Linked DNA regions of Homo sapiens: region 2 is linked to region 1. The links are contacts of gene promoters, found by promoter capture Hi-C in blood cells and fetal thymus (Javierre and others, 2016). All regions are on one chromosome and are shown on one strand. The core of a region is centred on a gene start or on the middle of the fragment in contact, and the rest is flanking DNA. Distances in the headings are between cores, read along the strand shown.

The links. The method cuts DNA at HindIII sites, captures the fragments that hold promoters and counts their contacts. A CHiCAGO score of 5 or more calls a contact.
Region 2: a fragment that was not itself captured here is called in contact with the fragment with the promoter of SIGLEC12 in region 1 in 1 of 17 cell types (monocytes); the score reaches 7.4 in monocytes.

What each region holds. Positions count from the first base shown.
Region 1 is chr19:51,500,446-51,503,341 of GRCh38, reverse strand. It overlaps SIGLEC12 (sialic acid binding Ig like lectin 12), which reads left to right and starts at 1,542. Exons shown (of 8, transcript NM_053003.4): 1 at 1,542-2,035. The coding sequence starts at 1,609. The HindIII fragment of the contact is 28,149 bases long and covers 1-2,896 here.
Region 2 is chr19:51,677,204-51,680,087 of GRCh38, reverse strand. No RefSeq gene overlaps it. Among named protein-coding and RNA genes, the nearest start is that of MIR99B, 14 kb to the left of the region's middle. The HindIII fragment of the contact is 6,463 bases long and covers 1-2,884 here.

The DNA of each region.
Region 1 (2,896 bases), core at 293-2,792:
TCCTGCACATTTCCTTTTCAATTATCACAGCCAACTGACTCTACTCCAGGTTATGGGCAATTGGGGACAACATGGGGATGGGAAGATCCATGGAGCTGAGTAAAATAAAACAGATTGTGGTTTTTATGTAAAAATAGTCTTTAGAAAAACCTATGCAAAGCCATAGTATTGAAGGCAGTGCACTCAGATGATAAAACTACATAGAAAAGCAAGGAGACCATTATCATTAAAGTGAGGCTGGGGCATCTTCAGGAGGAACTGCATGTGGCCTATAGGAAGGGGAAACACAGGGCTGAATAAATGAATGCAATTTCTTTCTTCATCTCATGGGAGAAATTTGGCAATTATCTTGTGATGTTCTATTTCTTGAACAGTGATAATTTGGTGAAAATCACTGAGTCATTTTTTTAGGTGGCACTTTTATTTACTTGTATTACATTTCCCCAAAAATCATTGTTTCAAGAAAAGCTGACATGGGTCTAAGGAGGGCGAATCTTGCAGGATTTTCCCCACCTTCCTCCCAGTACATAGCATACAGTTTCAAAAACTCTTCTGCTGAATTCAGGTGCATTTCTTCTCCCATGAAATCCTGTCCATCATTGAGCGTGGACACGCCAGGGCTGGTGTCCTCGCTCCACGTCTCCTGTTCACCTGAAACCCTGGGAGCAGAGCCTGCAGGAACAAAGGGCCAGCAGACCCCTCATGCTCTGGAGTAAGGAGGACTTGTGAGAGAGCAGTGGTGAAGGATCCCATCCTGAACCCAGAGAGCCATGGCCGAGAGAGAAACGCCTGCCCCTTTAGAAATCTGTCCCTTCCCATCCAACATTCCTCCCTTCCAGACCTCACTGTACAACAGTCACAGCCTTAGCTTCTCAGGCCTCCTGTGAACTGGGCTCTTCTCTGTGTCTTTGGTGTGTATCAACACACGGAATCCTCACCTCCACGACCCCGTGTCTCTCTGCTCAGTCCTCCCGAGACTGATTCCCCAACATAGGAGAGAGCGACCACACCCTGCCTGGTACCCCCACTGAAGCTCCTGCCATGGAGAGCTCAGATATCAGGAGCCTCAGTGTCTCCCCACTACACAGTGACTCTTTGGGGACAGTGTCTAGCTCTGCTGTGTTGAACTCCACCTCACGGCCGCTGAGGGAGGAAGGAGAGGTTGCCTGCTCATCCCACCTGCACCCCCATCTCTTATATCCTAGTGTCACCTCTGACCTACAGAGAGACATCCACAGCCTGTACTTCATAGGTCTGGCCACATGGGACTCATTTTCACCTTATGGAAAATATCACCCAAGGGGAAGGGCACTGAGAGGGAGGCAGTGGGCGGGGTGGGCCCTGCATGGGGTTGGAATCTGGGTGAGTCTTTCATCCTCTCTGGCCTCAGGGTCCCCAGGAGTGGACGGGGTAGTGGACGGTGGATCTTCCAGGGGTGACCCGGCCCTGACAGTGTCTGTGTGTGAAGTTCCTCCTGTGAGGTCACCGTTCAGAACCCACCCCCAACTTCCTGTGCGGCTTCCTCGAAATCTTGAGTTCTCAGTTCCTGAGAGAAGAACCCTGAGGAACAGACTTACCTCAGCAACCCTGGCACCTCCAACCCGACACATGCTACTGCTGCTGCTACTGCTGCCACCCCTGCTCTGTGGGAGAGTGGGGGCTAAGGAACAGAAGGATTACCTGCTGACAATGCAGAAGTCCGTGACGGTGCAGGAGGGCCTGTGTGTCTCTGTGCTTTGCTCCTTCTCCTACCCCCAAAATGGCTGGACTGCCTCCGATCCAGTTCATGGCTACTGGTTCCGGGCAGGGGACCATGTAAGCCGGAACATTCCAGTGGCCACAAACAACCCAGCTCGAGCAGTGCAGGAGGAGACTCGGGACCGATTCCACCTCCTTGGGGACCCACAGAACAAGGATTGTACCCTGAGCATCAGAGACACCAGAGAGAGTGATGCAGGGACATACGTCTTTTGTGTAGAGAGAGGAAATATGAAATGGAATTATAAATATGACCAGCTCTCTGTGAATGTGACAGGTAAGGCACGGGCTCCAAGAGAGGCCAAAGGCAAATGTGATGAGGGCTTTAGGGCACGGCTGAGACGGGACACATGTCCTGGGAGGGGGCCGGGGGTGATGGACTCAGGGGAGGAGCTGGACCAGAGCCTGAGCTTCCCCAGGACCGCACCTTGGATGCCCCTCCTGATCCTGCAAGCCCCTCCCCTCACCAGCCCTGACCCACAGGCCTGACATCCTCATCCTGCCTCTGACGCTGGCACTGTGGCATGTGGGGCCTTATGACTCCTTGTTTTGGGGCCTGTCCTAGGCATGGCCGGGGTTTAGCACCATCCCAGGCCTCTCCCCACCAGATGCCAGAAGCACCCACCCCACCCATGCAGCGAGACAATTATCTCCACACATTGTCAAACGTCCTGGGGGGTTAAGTCCTCCCCAGTTGAGAGCCTTAGGTCTACACAACCCCGTGACTCTCTCAGGCCAGGCCAGGGAGGAAGCACTTCCTGGCGCAAACCAAGGGCAGCAGAGGCACCTGAGCCTGGACAGGGAGACTCAGCACACGGCCCCTCCATCTCTCATGCCCCGAGGTCCTCGGAGATCCACATTTAGATGCTCAAAAGACAGGAGGGACCTCCACGATGGTCCAGAGGCCGGGAGGGCAGGACCTACGTGTCTGGTGCAGGCCCTGGTGCTTCAGGGAAGCCCGGAGGTAGGAGGCGGGACACGGTCTCTTCTCCTCCCTGGGTGGGTCTCTAGGGTCTCTGAGCTTTAGGGTTTCCTTCACTCTGTGCAGAGGGAATGAGTTCCTATAGCATGTGGGTTTGCAGTTTCTCTTCCATGCAGGGCTGAGGTCTCCAGCTCCTCTCCAGCCCCCTGTGGGTCC
Region 2 (2,884 bases), core at 353-2,852, 180 kb before region 1:
AAGCAGCTCTTCCATGTTCAAAGCAATACTTAAACAAAAAGCCGATACTGTACTCTGCAGATGACAATACCCACCCAGCAGGACGTACTGATAACTGAGAGTTGCTTGAAAAAAAGTGGTTTATTTGATGAACCTACTGAAGAAATAGCCAAACGAAGGTGCTTTGAGAGTGGATGTATTTCACACGATACATGCTGTAAACACTTTGCTATTGTTTTGCTCCTGCCAATGTGCTGAAACAGGTGCATAGCTATTGAATGCTGAGATACAGATGGAAATTCAGAAATTATTTTTGCGGGGTTGTCAGCCTTCTAAAATATCTCCCAATGATCTCCACTTCCTGATATTCATGTGTTTGTGTAACCTCCTCCCCAAAGGATGAACTTAGTGACTTACTTATAACTAATGGTATATGGCAAAAGTGATGGAATGTCATTTCCAATATTAGATTACAAAAAACTGTGTGACTTCTGTCTTGCTAGCAAACTCTACTGCCTTTCTGATTTTCATGTATTAATCAAGTAAGTGGCTATATTCTGAGCTGCCATTTTTGAAAGACTCATGAGGTAAGGAACTGAGGGAAGCCCCTGCCAACAGCTAGAAAGGAACTGAGGCTCTCATTCCAATACCCTGTGAGGAACTGCATGTTGCCAAAAGCCAATGAATAAACTTGGAAGTGGGTCATTCCCCAGTAGAGCCTTCAGATGAGGATGAAGACCCTGAGTCAACATCTTGATTTCAACCTAGTGAGAAACCGTAAGCCAAGGACCAAGCTAAGCTGTGCTCAGATTCCTGACCACAGAAACTGTAAGATAAGTGTGTATCAAGATGCTCAGTTTTGGAATAATTCCCTAGGTAACAATAGATGGCTAATATTAATACTTTTTTGTTTTTCTGTTATATGAATAGTATTTTGATATCTTGAAAGTGAATTGTCTTTCTCTATTGTCATATTTCTCATCCAAGATTTCAGGAGACATTCTTCCCAACAGCCTACGTGAAATAGCAAGCAAATGCAAAAATCTTATGGGAAAACAAAAAAACCTAAGAGAGGGGAGAACTTTCTCATTTTTGAGAATGGCAGTCCAGGCTATATGGATCAACTCCTCTGCTGAAAGTCATTAAAAGTGGCGGATAAAATACTCAAAACAATCTTTATAAAATAATGGAAAGACAATCTAGTGAGGAATTTCCTAGCTAAAATTTAGAAAGTGAGAACTCCAAGAACTAAGCAGAGCATTCAAACCTGCTTTTGACTGATGAGCATAGGCTTATTCTGATTATAAAAATGAGCTGTAGTTTTCAACAGTCTCCTGAGAGGAAAGGAACAAAAGTAAAAGTGGCACCAAACTGGTACTATGGCATATGGTAAAAGCAAACTGAAACCCTCCTTCATGGATGTACTTTGATCATAGAATGAAAATGATCCCAGGTAGAAGGTCTGAGGTACGAGGAGGAAACAGGTGGTAAATATATGGATGTATCCATCAGGATTCGAATAGGAAGCTGATGGCTCATTCAAGAGCTTAATTAAACATAGACTTGGCCGGACACGGTGGCTCACGTCTGTAATCCTAGCACTTTGGGAGGCCAAGGCAGGCGGATCACTTGAGATCAGGAGTTCCAGACCAGCCTGGCCAACATGGTGAAACTCTGTCTCTACTAAAAATACAAAAAGTGGCCAGGAGCGGTGGCTTACGCCTGTAGTCCCAGCTACTCAGGAGGCTGAGGCAGGAGAATTGCTTGAACCCGGGAGATGGAGGTTGCAGTGAGTCGAGATCGCGTCACTGCACTCCAGCCTGGGTGACAGAGCAAGACTCCGTCTCAAAATAAATAAATAAATGAATAAATAAATAATAAACATAGGCCAATGAAGGGACTAAATAGAGATGTAGGCAGGATTAAGAGGTCCAAAAAGAGATGGTGCAGCATCCAAGGACAAGCAGCAGTGGGAAACGGGTACCAGCCTAGACCTGATGGGGCAAGGGCAGTAGCCTTGGAGGATGGGCTGCCTTATAGGACTTGTAGCACAGAGGAATGCAGCCACGGCCAGAACTGTAGGGAGAGAACAGGAGGAATAAAAACCCTGACTTCTTTCCTCCCACCCTTCAATCTCCGGACAGTGCCTCCCACTGGCAAGGGGAAGCTGATGATGCGGTCCTGAGAGGTCAGCCTGTCAGTGCACAGAAATGAGCAGAGACAAGTGAATGATGGATCTGAAGAGGCACAGGTCATCCCTGTTGTCACTGAGCACCCATTACGTTCTTTTGTTTGGATGAACAAGCTCACATCCTTAACACAGAGATGCCCAGTATTAGTTCTACTATTACTGCAGAGGGAAGTCATTCCTGCTATACTTCTGAAACTGAAATTGTAACAACAGCCATGAAAAGTGCTCTTCATGTAAGATATCAGAGTGAAATTGAAGTGGGAAAGAAACAATTAGTTACCATAAAACATAATAGCTGCAGTTCCTGCTTCTATAGCTGGTCATAAAGCCTAAATTGATAACCATTTTGTGTCTCTCTTACCTTCCTCTAGCACTTCGTTTCCTTGGAATTTTTTATCTGGTAGAGTGACCCAAAGGATCCAAGTCATTAATGCTTCGTCTTTATTGCACTGCTGCAGTTATCCATTGACCATTATTCTGGACAGAGTATAAAAAGCCTCCCGACGGAATAGTCTCGGTTCCACTCCTAATTCTCCTTGATTGCACTGTATAGCAACAACATATTTTTCTCCTAATAATTGGATCAATTGGTACCTTTACTAGCTTAGTAAAGGTACCTCCTTCTCTGCCTGATGGTTTAGCATCATGACTTGCCCAAAATGGCCAAGAGGCAGCCTCTCCTTCCACTTGAAACCATAACTGGGTCCTTTAGTG